Linked DNA regions of Homo sapiens: region 1 is linked to region 2. The links are contacts of gene promoters, found by promoter capture Hi-C in blood cells and fetal thymus (Javierre and others, 2016). All regions are on one chromosome and are shown on one strand. Each heading gives the region's core, a stretch centred on a gene start or on the middle of the fragment in contact. The rest is flanking DNA. Distances are from core to core; before and after follow the strand shown. Region 1 has its middle 31 kb from the start of MIR934. Region 2 holds the start of RBMX (RNA binding motif protein X-linked).

Region 1 (7,654 bases), core at 4,933-7,432, 300 kb before region 2:
CCCTCAATCAGCAGTACTGAGTTCCTACTCTGTGTCAACTGTCTAGTGAGGTTCTGGGAAAATAAGCACAGAACTTTATAGGTGTAGCTGTCCACTCAGTACATGTCTCATCTCATTTCATCATCACAACAAATCCGTGAGGTTTACAGGGCAGATAGTAATAGCCCTATTATATAGATTAGGAAGCTGAGACTCAGAGAGGTTGCATGAGTTGCCAAATGTAACACAGCTAGGTGCTAGGTTATAGAGGCTTGGACTCGATGGACTTCAAATTCACTCTCTTTACTGCTGCACCACACTGCTTGGTGCTGCTTACTGAGAGGTTGGTAGGGTAATGGTTAAGACTAAGTGCTCCTAGAGTCAGGCTGCCTGGGTCCACTCTGACTGTACCACTCTCTTGCATCAGGCAAATTACTTAGCTTCTCTGTGCCTCATTTTCTCCATCTTTTAAATGAGAAGAATAACAGTACTTAACTTACGAGATTATTTTGAGGACCAAATAAGTAAATGCTTATGTCAGTCATATAATAAACAATAAATGTCAGCTCTTTTATTATTATTATTATAAAGATGGGGGTCTCACTATGCTGCCCAGGCTGGCCTTGAACTACTGGGCTCAAACTACCCTCCCACCTCAGCCTCCCAAAATGCTGGGATTACAGGCATTAGCCACTGCACCCAGCGGTCAGCTGTTAATATTACTGTCAACACGTGAGGCAGAACAACTTGGGGCAAGTAGGAAGAAGAGATGTAGATCAAGGAAGGTGCTAAGTGCTGCTAAAGTAACATCTGATTAGTTATTCTTGCTTGATTAACAGGAAAAACCCTTCCAGCTCTCTATACAGAGTCCACTCTGATAGCTCATTTTTCCAGTCCTCCAGGGACAGCCCCTCTTCTCCTTGTCTCCAAGAGTACCCGCACAAGTAATGGGGCTACAGAAAGTGGAAGAACTAATTCTGCCCTGGATAGGTGACCTCTGCCTTTGTAGGGTTGGGGGCAGAATAAAACTGTCAGAAGGACCAGGATTTGTAAAAGCGTCTATTGTAGAGGATTTATAATTGAATGAGTCATCTTATCCATATCTTTAAAACAGGGCCAGTATGGGTTAGTACTAGAAATATGAGCAGAGACTTAATTATATAGTGATATTTAAATTGGATCTTCCTTCTATGTCAATACTCTGGGATGCCATGGCAATCCCCTTCTCCCACTTGGCTGCTTTTCCTCAATTCGCTCTGACAGCTCCTCTTTTGGCTCCTCCATGAGCTCTTCTACCACCCCTTAAATGCTAGTGTTCCCCAGGGATCTTTGCTTGGCCTCCAGTCCTCACACACTACACTCTTTTTCTATGTAATTGCATCATTTCCCACAACATAAATGACCATCTATTTCCAAGTTGATAACTCCAAAATCTCTGTCTCCTGCCAAGACATCTGCCCAAGCTCCAACCTCATAATCTACCTGTCTGCTAGATATCAGCACCTAGAGGCCCCACAGGCAACAGTCCCTGCCAAATGTGTTTCTTCACTTGTGTTCTCTACATTATTTTCTGACATCAGCATTAACCTAGCCAGTCAACGTAGGCACTTGGAAGTCATTCTTTTTTATTGAGATATCACATACCATAATATTTGCCTTTTTAAACTGTACAATTCAGTGCTTTTTAGTAAATTTACAAAGTTTCTCAACCAGTCCCACAATCTTGTTTTAGGACATTTCATCACACCCGAAAAAGTTCTGCTTGTCCATTAACAGTCACTCCCCATCGTCCCCTCTCCCAGTCTCTGGAAACAATGAATCTGTGTTCTGTCTCCTTGGATTTGCCTATTCTGTATATTTCACATAAATGCAATTGTACAATTTATGGTATTTTGTGATGGCTTCTTTCACTTAGCATAATGTTTTCATGGTTCATCTATGTTGTAGCATGTATCAGTCCTTCATTCCTTTATGTGGCTGAAAAATATTCCATTGCATAGATTTATCACATTTTCTTTATTTATCAGGCAACTGACATTTGAGCTGTTTCCACTTTTGGGCTACTATGAATAATGCTGCTATGAACATCCACATACAAGTTTTTGTGTGGACATATGTTTTACTTAGTTTTAGAGTTGCTGAGTATATACCCAAGATTAGAATTGCTGGGTCATTTGGTAACTGTACGTTTAAGCTTTTGAGGAACTGCCAAACTATTTTTCAAAGTGAGCACACCATTTTACAACCCTACCAGCAATGTATGATGGTTCAAATTTCTGTAGGAGTCATTCTTGATTCCTCCCTCTCTCTCAGTCCACACAGATAGTCAATCACCCAAGTCTTGCCAATTTAACAACCTAAACCTCTCTCAGTACTGCAACTGCTGCTCTTGGTCAGTTCTACATCATCTTTCACCTGGACTATTGTAATAGCCTTCAAGCTGGTTCTTGCCTCTGGCTACTCATCCACCTGTACCAGCATGAGCTTTCTAAAAACAAGCCCCAAAGAATGTCAATTCCCTGTTTGAAACCCTTTAATGCAGTGACTCTCAACCCTGCCTGCACAGTAGAATCACCTGGACAGATTTCAGATATCCTGATGCCAGGGCTGCACCCCAAGCTGATTAAATCAGAATATCCAGGTTTGGCATCCAGACATCAGTATTGCTAAAGCTCCCGAAGAGATTTCAATATGTAGCCAAAAACAGAAACATTGCTTTAGTGACTCCCTACTGCCCATAAGATGAAGTTCAAGCTCCCTAGCGTGACCCACGGGTCCTTCATCATCTGACTCCTGCCCACCTATTTATCTGCATCTTGTACCCCTCCCTGCATCACACGTAATACCCCAGCTGTACTGATCTGCATGTGGCCTCCAGCAGAAACATATCTTTCTTCCCTGTCTTCTCTGCCTGGAATGTCCTTCTCAGCTCTCTTTGCCTCGGGAGCTCCCTCCTACTCATTCCTTAGGATTCAACATCTCTAGAAACTCTTCCTTTATCATGTCCTTTTTGTCCTGTGTACTCCTTCAGCGCTATTGGAATTGTTTGTCTTCCCCAGAAGACTGGGAACCACCCCATCCCCCACCCACAGTTTAGCACCTGAAATTTATCATGCCCTCTAAGTAAGAGCTTTTGGGTAAGTGAATGAATTAATTAATGTCCTTGAAAGAGTTGCAACACAGCATTTTGTTGTGTACCATCTTAACAATCAGACCCTGAAGGCATCTGGGCCAGAGTAGACAAGGACCTCAACCATGAAGAAATGGCCCGGTGTACCCAACCCCACCATACCAGCACACAGCTTCTCTAGCCAGGGGAATCTCAGGTGCCACAGAAATTGGACCTCAACCAGAGAAGTTGGCTCTTGACTAGAAAACACTGAAGATGAAATAAATTCGGACCTAACATGAAGTGGATAGCTTAGCAGACCCTTCCTGTAAAATTCGAAAACTCCTGCCCAAGAGAAGAGGGACCACTGCCTGCGCTTGAATAAAGGACTCAAGTATAGGCAAATCGAAGCACCTTCCTTCCCTGAGCCCATTCCAATGCTCATCTGATCTCTGGAGCTTTCATGTTGTACACCTCTCCACCCTATCTTAACCTTGAATCCCAGGTACACTCTGCCTGCTCTGACAACTCTCTACCTACCTACCTGCCTACCTGACTCTCATACCTTAGCTCCACTTTGATCACCTGGTAGCAATGGATTGTCCAACTACACCAAGTGTCAAGCCTACAGGCTCTCAGGAACCCATCTCTGAGAAAGGCATCAGCTTCCCAGCCAACTGCCTGCCCAATGTCCGGCCCCAGACTTGGCCCCTTGATGAGGTATTCTCCTTACATATATCTCAATACTAAAATGACTTACCAACACTGCTATAGACTAAATGTTTGTGTCCCTCCAAATTCACATGTTAAAACGTAATCTCCAATGTGATGGTATTTAGGATGTGGGGCATTTGGGAGGTGAATAGGTCATGAAGGTGAAGGCCTCATAAATGGAATTAGTGCTCTTATAAAAGAGGCCCCAGAGAGCTCATTTGACTCTTCTGTCATGTGAGAACACAGAGAACACCACCATGTATGAACTGGAAAGTGGGCCCTCACTAGACACTGAATCTGTTGGCATATTGATCTTGAGCTTCCTAGGCTTCAAAACTGGAAGAAATAAATTTCTGTTGTTTATAAGCCACCCAGTCTATAGAATTCTGTTATAGCAGTCCAAATGGACTAAGATGAACACTAACACTAATTGCCCATATTGCATGCCAGCTGTAAGAGAAAGCACCATTTGAGGAAACACAAAACTAAACACACATTAGAGTCCTTTTTACAACTCTGCTTTGTTGCTGTTTAATTCATGGTTCTCAACCTTGACTGCACATTGAAATACTGTGTGTTTCGAATGTTTCGAAAATACTGACAGCTATAAGTAGGTAAATCAATCAATCGAATTACCTAATTTTGAAAGTAAATAAATAAAAATACCAATTTGGGGTCTCACACCCAAATATTCTGATTTAATTAGTTCAGACGGCAGCCCAGACAGCAAAAGTTTTATAAGCTCTCCAGGTGATTCTAATATGCAGGCAGGATTGAGACCCACTTGCCCAAAAGCTACAGTCATGTGCCCCATAACGATGTTTTGCTCAATCACAGGACCACATGTACAGTGGTGGTCCTATAAGATTACAATGGAATTAAAAATTTCCTATTGCCTAGTGGCATTGTAGTCATAGTAACGTTGCAGCCCTAACACCATAATGCAATGCAATGCATTACTCATGTTTGTGACACTAGTGTTAACAAGCTATTGCTCTGCCAGTCATATAAAAGACTAGCAATACAACTATGTATAGAACATATACTTGATAATGACAATAAACAACTATGTTACTGGTTTAGATATTTACTATACCATACCTTTTATCATTATTTTCAAGCGGACTCCTTCTACTTATTAAAAAAAACAGTTAAGTGTAAAACAAGCTCAGGCAGGTCCTTCAGGAAGTATTCCAGAAGAAAAAATTGTTAGCGTAGGAGATGACAGCTTCGTGAATGTTACTGTCCCTAAAGACCTTCCAGAGGGGAACAAGATGTGGAGATGGAAGACCATGATACTGATGATCCTGACCCTGTGTAGGCCTAGGCTAATGTGTGTGTTTGGTCTTAGAGTCTAACAAAAAAGTCTCAAAACTGCGCTTGCTTTGGCAGCCCATGTACTAAAACTGGAGTGATACAGAGAATAGTAACATGGCTCCTGTGCAAGAATGACACACAAATTGTGATGCGTTCCATTAAAAAAAACTAAAAATAAGTAAAAATAATAAAAAGTAAAAGTTTTAAAGTAGATAAGCTTAGAGAATAAGGATATACATGATGAAAATATTTTTGTACAGCTGTACAATTTGTGTTTAAGTGTTATTACAAAACAGTAAAACAGGTAAAAAAATTTAAGGTTTATAAAGTGAAAAAATTATAGTAAGCTAAGGTTAATTAGTTATTGAAGAAAGAAAAAAATTATGTATTTTTTGAGATGGAGTCTTGCTCTGTCACCCAAACTGGAGTGCAATGATGCAATCATGGCTCATTGTAGCCTTGAACTCCTGGTCTCAAGTGGTCCTCCCACCTCAGCCTCTCAAGTTGCTGGGACTACAGGTGTGTGCCTCCACACACAGCTAATTTTTAAATTTTTTGTAGAGATGATGTATTGCCATGTTGCCCAAGCTGGTCTGAAACTCCTGAACTTAAGCGATCCATCCACCTCAGCCTCCCAAAGTGTTGGGATTACAGGAGTGAGCCACCATGTCCAGCCAAGAAAAAATATTTTTTATAAATGTAGTGTAGCCTAAGTGTACAGTGTTTGTAAAGTCTACAGTAGCATGGAGTGATGTCCTAGACCTTCACATTTACTCACCACCCACTCACTGACTCAACCAGAGCAACTTCTACTATTGCAAGCTCCATTCGTGGTAAGCGCCTTATACAGGTGTATAATTTTTTAAATCTTTTATACTGTATTTTTACTGTGCCTTTTCTATATTTAGATATGTTCGATACATAAATACTTACCATTGTGTTCCCATTGCCTACAGTATTCAACATAGCAACATGCTGTTCAGGTTCGTAGCCTAGGAGCAATAGGCCACACCATATAGCCTGGGTGTGTAGTAGGCTATACCACCTATGTTTGTGTAAGTGCACTCTGTGCTGTTCACACAACAAAATCACCTAATGACACATTTTTCAGAATGTACCCTCATCATTATGCAACACATGACTGTGCTTCTTAGACTCCAAACATACTTCCCCTGACTTGGTTCTAGGGAGTCAACATTGTCAATGTTACAACTTCGTCTTAGAATGGTTTAGTGCTCCCCCCCACCTTCTTCTTATACCCAGGATCATAAAGGCTTCTTCAAGGGCATTTTGTTGGGCACGGAGCTGACCACCTCCATGTGTTTCCTTCCCTTCAGGCCTTACAGAGCTTATTCTCATTATTCCACCTCTATTTGCAACGGAGCCTGAAACCTATCCTTATTTGCAGTTTGCCATTTAAAAATCATCCCTTCTGGCTTTACTTTTTGCCCTGTTCTTTCTGTGTCCAAACTGAAAGTCCGAAGTGAGAGAAACTCATGCTACAGAGTAACTCGCTGGGGTTTGGTGTCAAATCTTAAAACGCCCACTTTCCAATCAAGGGTGACTAAATTATGAAGTAGCACTGCCCCCACCCCCTCCTTTTTAGCTCTTCACAATGCTTGCTATCACCTATTTTATAATTAGCAGTAGATTAGCATGAAAAAGATCTTCCTTCCTGAATTAGGCACTGCAAATATATTTTCTAACTTTTGACCTAAATTGCAGTCTGATTTAAAGTTTTGTTTGTTTGTTTACCAGTTTTCTAGAGAAATAAGAAAAAAAAATAAAGTTTTGTTTGTTTGCTTGCTTGCTTGCTTTTTTTATTCACTCAACAAATCCTTAGCACATTTTGAACAAAGCAGCTTGAAAGCAGAGTTAGGCTATTTCTGTACACAAATAGAAGAGCAACTAAGCTTGTGTTTTCACCAGTGGTCTTTTGCAGAAGATAAGGGTCAATAGCTATGAGGGACCAAGGCTCAAGTTTCACTTAAGGGAAACTGGATTCACTTCTCCAAGTGATACTGAAAGCTTGTATTCCAGGGTTAAGATTTACCAAATCAGGGACTCTCTTGTTTTCAGGGATAGTGCAGATTCTACATATCGGGTTTTTAGGGTGCACATGATGAATAGTTTGGAAACGTTTCTGCACCAGTTTATCACTGGCAAGACAGAGGTACCACTTGCAGTCCTCTTCCTGAGAAGGTTCCTCCCACAAGGCATCCCACTTCCTTTTCAAATTTTACTTATTTTGCTCATCAGCAATAAAATGAAAATGTGTCTTTCGCTCTCTATAATCATCTCCCCAACTCAGCAACTTAAGGTGCCTCTGTCACTTTGATTTATTCAAATGATTTGAAATGTCAACTTATTGAAGATCTGTAGAGGACCATGGGTAATGTCACCCACTGCCCTGAAAAGCCAACGAATTTTAACTCTCTGAACGGATGTCAGACAAGGGCAAAGCTGAGCCCATGGAATCACTTTTTGCCATGCTTCTCAATGGAGCAATTCAAGGTGACTTCGTCATGCCCATTG
Region 2 (7,317 bases), core at 4,592-7,091:
AAGCAAGCAAACAGCCTCAAAAGAAACTTAGAAAAACAAAAAAAGCCCCTCACAAAACTAGGAAAAGCCCAGCTGATAAAGTTACCCCTTTAAAAGCAAGCAAACATCCCTTTAAAAGCAAGCACCACACAGCCTAATAAACTGGCTCACGAACCTAAAAACTCAAGCTGGTGATACTAAAGACCCTTAACCAGTATCTTACCATAACTCTCATATGAATCTCTGTAGGAACCTCCACTTGGATGATCTGAATAGTCACGATCACGACCATATCCATCTCTATCGCTAAATTAAAGAGAAACCTTTAAGTCCCAGAGAATCAACTTTCATTGCAACTTTTCTTACATGTAAGCCACAGAAGCAAAGTCACTTACCTATATCCTCTTGATGGATAGTCATCACGTGAACTGGAATGACCATAATCACGGTAAGTATAATCTCGTGGTGGTGGTGCATAATCTCTAGTATCACGAGAACTTGGGTAATCTCTGCTTGAATAGCTACAAAGCAAAAGTTTTGGTTTATGCTTTTGATAAGCTTTCCTTCAACCTTAATTATTAATTTAAAAAGCTGCACTTTTCTATTACCTGTCTTTAGTAGAATACCCATCATCTCTTGGGGACAAATAAACATCTCTACGAGAGGGCAGCGGTTCCCTTCGAGGTGGACCTCCATAACTATCTCTTCCACGTGATACAGGAGCTTAAGGAAAAATATCATTTTTTTAAACATAGCCAGAGAAAAAAGTTAAAACGTGAACTTACATTCAGGCTATGAAAAATAATGAGACTGACTTCAAAGATGACATTACGGAGGCTAGATCACCTAATTTTATTTTCTACAATTTCCCATTCATATTTTAAATTTTTTTCAGTGCTAATTCCATTTATCTAATCACCTAGAACACATGACTAAAAGTTTTGTTTTTTTTTTTTGAGATGGGAGTCTCGCTCTGTCACCCAGGCTGGAGTGCAGTCGCGCAATCTTGGCTCACTGCAACCTCTGCCTTCTGGGTTCAAGTGATTCTCCTGCCTCAGCCTCCCGAGTAGCTGGGATTACAGGTGCCCACCACCACGCCCAGCTAACTTTTGTATCTTTAGTAGAGACAGGGTTTCACCACGTTGGCCAGACTGGCCTCGAACTCCGGGCCTCATGATCTGCCCACCTCAGCCTCCCAAAGTGTCAAGATTACAGGCGTGAGCCACCGCACCCAGACTCCATGAATAAAGTTTTTTTTTTTTGTTTTTTTTTTTTTTTTGGAGACAGAATCTCACTCTGTTGCCACGCTGGAGGACAGTGGCATGATCTCGGTTCCCTGCAACCTCTGCCTCCCAGGTTCAAACAATTCTCCTGCCTCGGCCTCCCAAGTAGCGGGGATTACAGGAACCCGCCCTACACTCAGCTAATTTTTGTATTTTTTAGTAGAGACGGGGTTTCACCACATTGGCCAGGATGGTCTTGATCTCTTGACACCGTGATCCGTCTGCCGCGGCCTCCCAAAGTGCTAGGATTACGGGCGTGAGCCACCACGCCTGGCCAATTAAAATTTTAAGCATCATTCACCTCTCAATTCTTTGTGTTACGGTAGTAGCATAAATCATCATACATGGAACATTTACCTCTTCCTCCCATTCCACTGCTACTGCGAACTGGTCCTGAAGGTGCAGATCTCTTAGGAGGAGGACCCCCACTTCTTGGTGGTGGTCCTCTTTTTACTGGGAGTGGTCCCCTGGAAGAACTCATGTTAAAATTCATGGAATATCCACCGTCATCTGCATCAAAAATAGAAAAGAAAAATATTACTACTCACAAGAATCAAGAAAGATATAAAAGTTTTTTTTTTTTTTTGAGAGTCTCACTGTCGCCCAGGCTGGAGTGCAGTGGCTTCATCTCGGCTCACTGCAACCTCTGCCTCCTGGGTTCAAGCAATTCTCCTGCCTCAGCCTCCCGAGTAGCTGGGATTACAGGTGTGCGCCACCACACCCAGCTAATTTTTGGTGGTTTTTTTTAAGTAGAGACAGGATTTCACCATGCTGGCCAGGCTGGTCTCGAACTCCTGACCTTGTGATCCGCCTGCCTCAGCCTCCCAAAGTGCTGGGATTGCAGGTGTGAGCCACCAGGCTCGGCCACTATAAAAGTTTTCTTTGCTTCATCAAGAATATGACCATTATTGGGCCGGGCACAATGGCTCACGCCTGTAATCCCAGCACTTTGGGAGGCCAAGGCGGGCGGATCACCTGAGGTCAGGAGTTCAAGACCAGTCTAACACGGTAAAATCCTGTCTCTACTAAAAATACAAAAATCCAGGTGTGGTGGTGCATGCCCGTAATCCCAGCTACTTGGGAGGCTGAGGCAGGACAATCGCCTGAACCTGGAAGGCAGAGGTTGTGGTGAGCCAAGATCGTGCCACTGCACTTCAGCCTGGGCAACAAGTGCTAAACTCTACCCCCCCCCCCCCAAAAAAAAACCATTATTGATTTGGGTAGTCTAGTTTCACTTGTACTTGATGGAGCATGCACTGCAGTCATAGAAACTGGGGAAATAAGAACTGAAGGTAGTCTTAAAAAACTTTTTTTTTTTTTTTTTGAGAGGGAGTCTCGCTGTTCCCCCAGGCTGGAGTACAGTGGCACGATCTCAACTCACTGCAACCTCTGCCTCCCAAGTTCAAGTGATTCTTCTGCCTCAGCCTCCGTAGTAGCTGGGATTACAGGCACCTGCCACCACGCCCAGCTAACTTTAAAAAATAAAAATGATTTCATTTTCATGTCCAACACCCTGGCCTATCAATTTTTAAATGCCTTTCCTACAGAGTGAACTACTTGGACAAGAAGTAACACTGTCCACGGTTTAACACCATAATCTAAAACATGCTTCCCATGCTTTCAATTGGCAATCACTTTGGTAGATGAACAAGTGTTGTCAATTTCAAAAGTTGGCACCTTTCCTCAAGGACTTAACCAAAGCATCCACTTGGTGTGAGCTTGCAGTCCCTAACTTATACACCAAACCCGAGGTCCACGCAAGTTATTACCCATGTGTCCTCCCCGTGAGGGAGGTCCCCTGGTTCCTCCACTTCCTCCTCTTCCACCTCTAAGACCTCTTGGAGGGCCTCTACTTCTTGGAGGTGGAGGCGGTCCACGTCTACCACTTTCAAATGATGGTTTGGTGGCTTGTTCCACCTTGATGGCTTTTCCATCTAATGACTAAAAAAAAAGATACGATTAAATTAAATCAAGATTTAAAAATAATTTGCACATCTACTATGCACTAAGACACTAACTGGTCCTTCAAAATGCAGTTATGGGTAAGTGTTGCTCATTAGTCTAAGAAAAAACACTGCAAATATAGTCAGTTTACATAAATGGGGCTTTTCCGCTTAAAATTCTTAATACTTAAAACCGATACTGATGATCTGGATTGAAACATAAGGTGAACCCACTGCATTATTGTATGGTAAAATTTAAAACAAGGCCAAGTAGGTATCAGCTTGTTATCAAAACTAGTAGCCAAAACCAAAAGCCAAGTTATCAAAATATGGCTTATGGATCTCAAGATAAAATGTATCATGTTGGCTGGGCGCAGTGGCTCGCAGTGTCTCACACCTGTAATCCCAGTACTTTGGGAGGCGGAGGCAGCTGGATCACCTGAAGTCAGGAGTTTGAGACCAGCCTGGCCAACATGGTGAAACCCTGTCTCTACTAAAAATACAAAGTTAGCCGGGCGTGGTCGCGCATGCCTGTAATCCCAGCTACTGGGGGGGGGGGGGGGGGCTGAGGCAGAAAAATCGCTTAGAACTCGGGAGACAGGCTGCAGTGGGCACTGCACCATTGCACTCCAGGCTAGGCAACGGAGGGAGACTATCAAAAAAAAAAAAAAAAAAGTACCATGTAATGCCATAATTATTCTGAACTGAGAGAATGTTACGAGCATAAGATATAACTCACTACTAGATTTGGTTCTGCAATTACAGAATACTCTTTGGAACAGGATCACAAACAGGATGAGTGGATCCCAGACAGGTATATACTGAAAAACAACGAAAACTCAAAAGCTGTCCTAGACCAGACTTGGACAACTACATGTTATTTTATGCACTAGTAACAGGTTATCATCCATCGTGTAGACAATCTCACCTTTCCATTCATGTCTCTGGCTGCATCCTTAGCGTCTGCTGGGCTTTCAAAGGTGACAAAAGCAAATCCTCTTGATTTGTTGGTTTCACGGTCTTTCATCAAGAGTACTAAAAAGTAGTTTTCAGAAAAATAAAGTGTTACCCTAGGTCAAATGAAATAACCAAAGTAAATGTGTAAACAGAAAGCTCAGAACTTCTTAGAGGACAAAAATACATTATCATGTCAGACGATCAATGCAATCAAATTCATCATAGCTTATATTTTAATTATAATAGCCCAGCCTGTACTGCCAGACAACTCACCTTCCACTATTCGTCCATATTTGCCAAATACTGCTTCAAGAGCTTTCTCATTTGTTTCCGTATTAAGCCCACCAATGAAGAGCTTTCCTGGGCGATCTGCTTCAACCATGTTTTTTTTTTTTTGGGCCGGTGAGTCTGTTGAAAAGGAATAGTATTACCTCACTGCAAAAAGTTCCTCAAGTTTATTGGACACTTTTACTTTCGCACATTTCTCATATTTTCCACTAAAACCATTGTTCCTTAATAACTAAAGAAAACGATAACGAGCTAAGCCTCAGCCACAGTAGGAAGCAATTTGAACTAAGTAGTTTAGTAACACTGCAATTTACATAAAACTGGTTAAAAGGGCCAACTTAACTTTTACCACTACCCTTGATCACCCTTAGCTGTTCTTAAGCAACAGCTGCTTAACATTTGAAAAAGCAACTTTTAGTTCCAGTCCTCTTGCCTTTGAAAGATTCAATTACTCATCACACCCTTCCTAACGATGGTTTTAAAAGACTCCCAAGGTCACAGGCTAGACACAGGACCTTAACACCAAGCCCTCTTCCAACGACTCCTCTTTTCCTCATTAGGATTCCCTACTAAATCCAAGGAGAAATGTGAAGTTTAAGCCAAGTTATGCCGCCCCTCTTCTTCACCGGCCCCCGCCCTACCGAAAATTCTACTATCCGGCCAAAAAGATAAAAACAAATCGTCAACATCGTTTGCTATTAAGTAACGGAACGCGGACGCACACACTAACACTCGACACTCCGTGACTGCAGCGGAACCTAATTAAAACTCGTCATTAAAAACCGCGTGTAAAAGACAAAATGGCGACACTTGGATTCAACCCAGAACCACCGACACTGGTCAGGGGACTAACTTTTACCACCAACATTGGCTGGGAACATTCAGAGGGCTTCTTCTCCGGGGCCGCCAATGAATACGAAGCCCGCAGCCCGCATGGAAGTCCACATGCCCATCATTAGCGCCAGCGCCATACCAATGCAGGTATCGCCGTGGTGCGGTCGCTCCTCGCCCCGCTCCAGCCTACAAAGCCCCGACCTCCGCTACCAACTCCCGCAGATGGCAGCCAAACTTTCTCGAGAAGCATACAACCAAACGGGCCCCCTCATTTGTTTTCCCTCGACCCCCTCAGCTTTATTTAAATAGGTCGGAACCTTTGGGTTCTTAAAATGGCGCCCGCCACCCCCATCTCCAGGGAGATATAATCCCCAGTCCTAACACGGGGAGAGTGTCACGAAAAACGGACTGAGGAAAGGAGACACGTACCGGAGGGGTGACAATGGGTTCAAGCTCCAACGAGCTCGGCGATAGGGGCTTCCTAGCAGCTCAGCACCAGTGGCGGCTGCCGGGTGCGAGGACCGAACCGCGAAGCCGCTAGCACTACTGCGCAACGAGGGCGAACAAAGGAGACAGCAAACTTTATACTGCCCGGGAACGAGGCTGAAGGACCCGGATGGAAACGGAGCTTAGAATTTGAAACGCAAAGGGAGGGGGGAAGTAGTTCCCAGTCTCCCCATTGGCTGGCTCCTCTGTCATTCACCCTTCTCTCCTCCCTTTTTCCCGGGCCCTCGGTGTTGGGTCGACAGACCTTTCTAACCGTTTTCTCTACCCCCACCCGTTCTTTACAAACGCGCTTTTTTTGCTTTACGCTAAAATGGTGCACAGGCTTCCTTTAATAAAGAACTGAAGTTTATTGAGCGTCCTAGTGGGCCGGGCACGGTGCAAAACTTTACTTTTACTTTTCCATTAACTCTTCTAATTGTCAAAATGTGATGAGGGTAGATACTCCTACTATACCAATTTTGCAGAAACGGAAAACAAAGAAGTTTTGGCAATATAATATATTTTCAAAAATTGTCTTTAACAAGTGTTTTTAGTGAGTGTGGGAATTTCTGATAAATACATGTAAATTTCAGATGAGTAAAAAACGTACAAAACAGCATGCAGATAGTACATTCATATAGAACAATTACTGAGCACCTTGTAAATGGTGGGCTCTGGGCTAGGCCAGGAAAATACAACTCCAGGGAAAAGACAAGAGTCAGGCCTGTGGGTAAGGATGCCGGATTTAATAAATGAAAATACCAGGCCGGGTGCAGTGGCTCACGCCTGTAATCCCAGCACTTTGGGAGGCCAAGGTCGGTGGATCACGAAGTCAGGAGATGGAGACCATCCTGGCTAACACGGTGAAACCCCGTCTCTTTTTAAAAATACAAAAAATTACCCAGGCGTGGTGGCACGCGCCTGTAGTCCCAGCTACTCGGGAGGCTGAGGCAGGAGAATCCGGGAGGCGGAGGTTGCAGTGAGCCAAGACTGCGCCACCGCACTCCAGCCTGGGCAGGCGACAGAGCGAGACTCCGTCTCAAAATAAAAAAGAAAATGCGGGACGCTAATTTATTCTGCGAAGCTGTTAAAAAATTTTAAATAAAAATATGGGACGCGGCCGGGGCGCGGTGGCTCATGCCTGTAATCCTAGCACTTTGGGAGGCCGAGGCGGGCAGATTGCCTGAGCTCAGGGGTTTGAGACCAGCCTGGGCAACATGGTGAAACCCCGTCTCTACTAAAATAAAAATAAAAAATAAAAAAATTAGCCGGGCGTGGCGGCGTGTGCCTGTAGTCCCAGCTACTCGGGAGGCTGAGGCAGGAGAATTGCTTGAACCCAGGAGGCGGCGGTTGCAGTGAGCCAAGATCATACCACTGCACTCCAGCCTGGCAACAGAGCGAGACTTCGTCTAAAAAAAAAAAAAGGGACGCCCAGTTAAGTTTAAATTTCAGATAACGAATACTTTTTTTAGTATAGTATGTCCCAAATCTCATATTTTAAAAATTCGCTGTTTATCGGAAATTCAAATTTAACTGAGCATTCTATA

The links. The method cuts DNA at HindIII sites, captures the fragments that hold promoters and counts their contacts. A CHiCAGO score of 5 or more calls a contact.
Region 1: a fragment that was not itself captured here is called in contact with the fragment with the promoter of RBMX in region 2 in 1 of 17 cell types (non-activated CD4 T cells); the score reaches 6.8 in non-activated CD4 T cells.

What each region holds. Positions count from the first base shown.
Region 1 is chrX:136,578,062-136,585,715 of GRCh38, forward strand. It overlaps the pseudogene RNU6-320P. Among named protein-coding and RNA genes, the nearest start is that of MIR934, 31 kb to the left of the region's middle. The HindIII fragment of the contact is 1,696 bases long and covers 5,335-7,030 here.
Region 2 is chrX:136,874,884-136,882,200 of GRCh38, forward strand. RBMX (RNA binding motif protein X-linked) reads right to left here and starts at 5,842. Exons shown (of 9, transcript NM_002139.4): 1 at 5,714-5,842; 2 at 4,436-4,570; 3 at 4,134-4,240; 4 at 3,032-3,203; 5 at 1,620-1,772; 6 at 588-702; 7 at 375-500; 8 at 203-285. The coding sequence starts at 4,544. It overlaps SNORD61 (small nucleolar RNA, C/D box 61), which reads right to left and starts at 4,388; the gene lies at 4,316-4,388. RefSeq lists enhancers at 1-324, 4,767-5,366, 5,168-5,227, 5,238-5,697, 5,367-5,965. The HindIII fragment of the contact is 13,799 bases long and covers 536-7,317 here.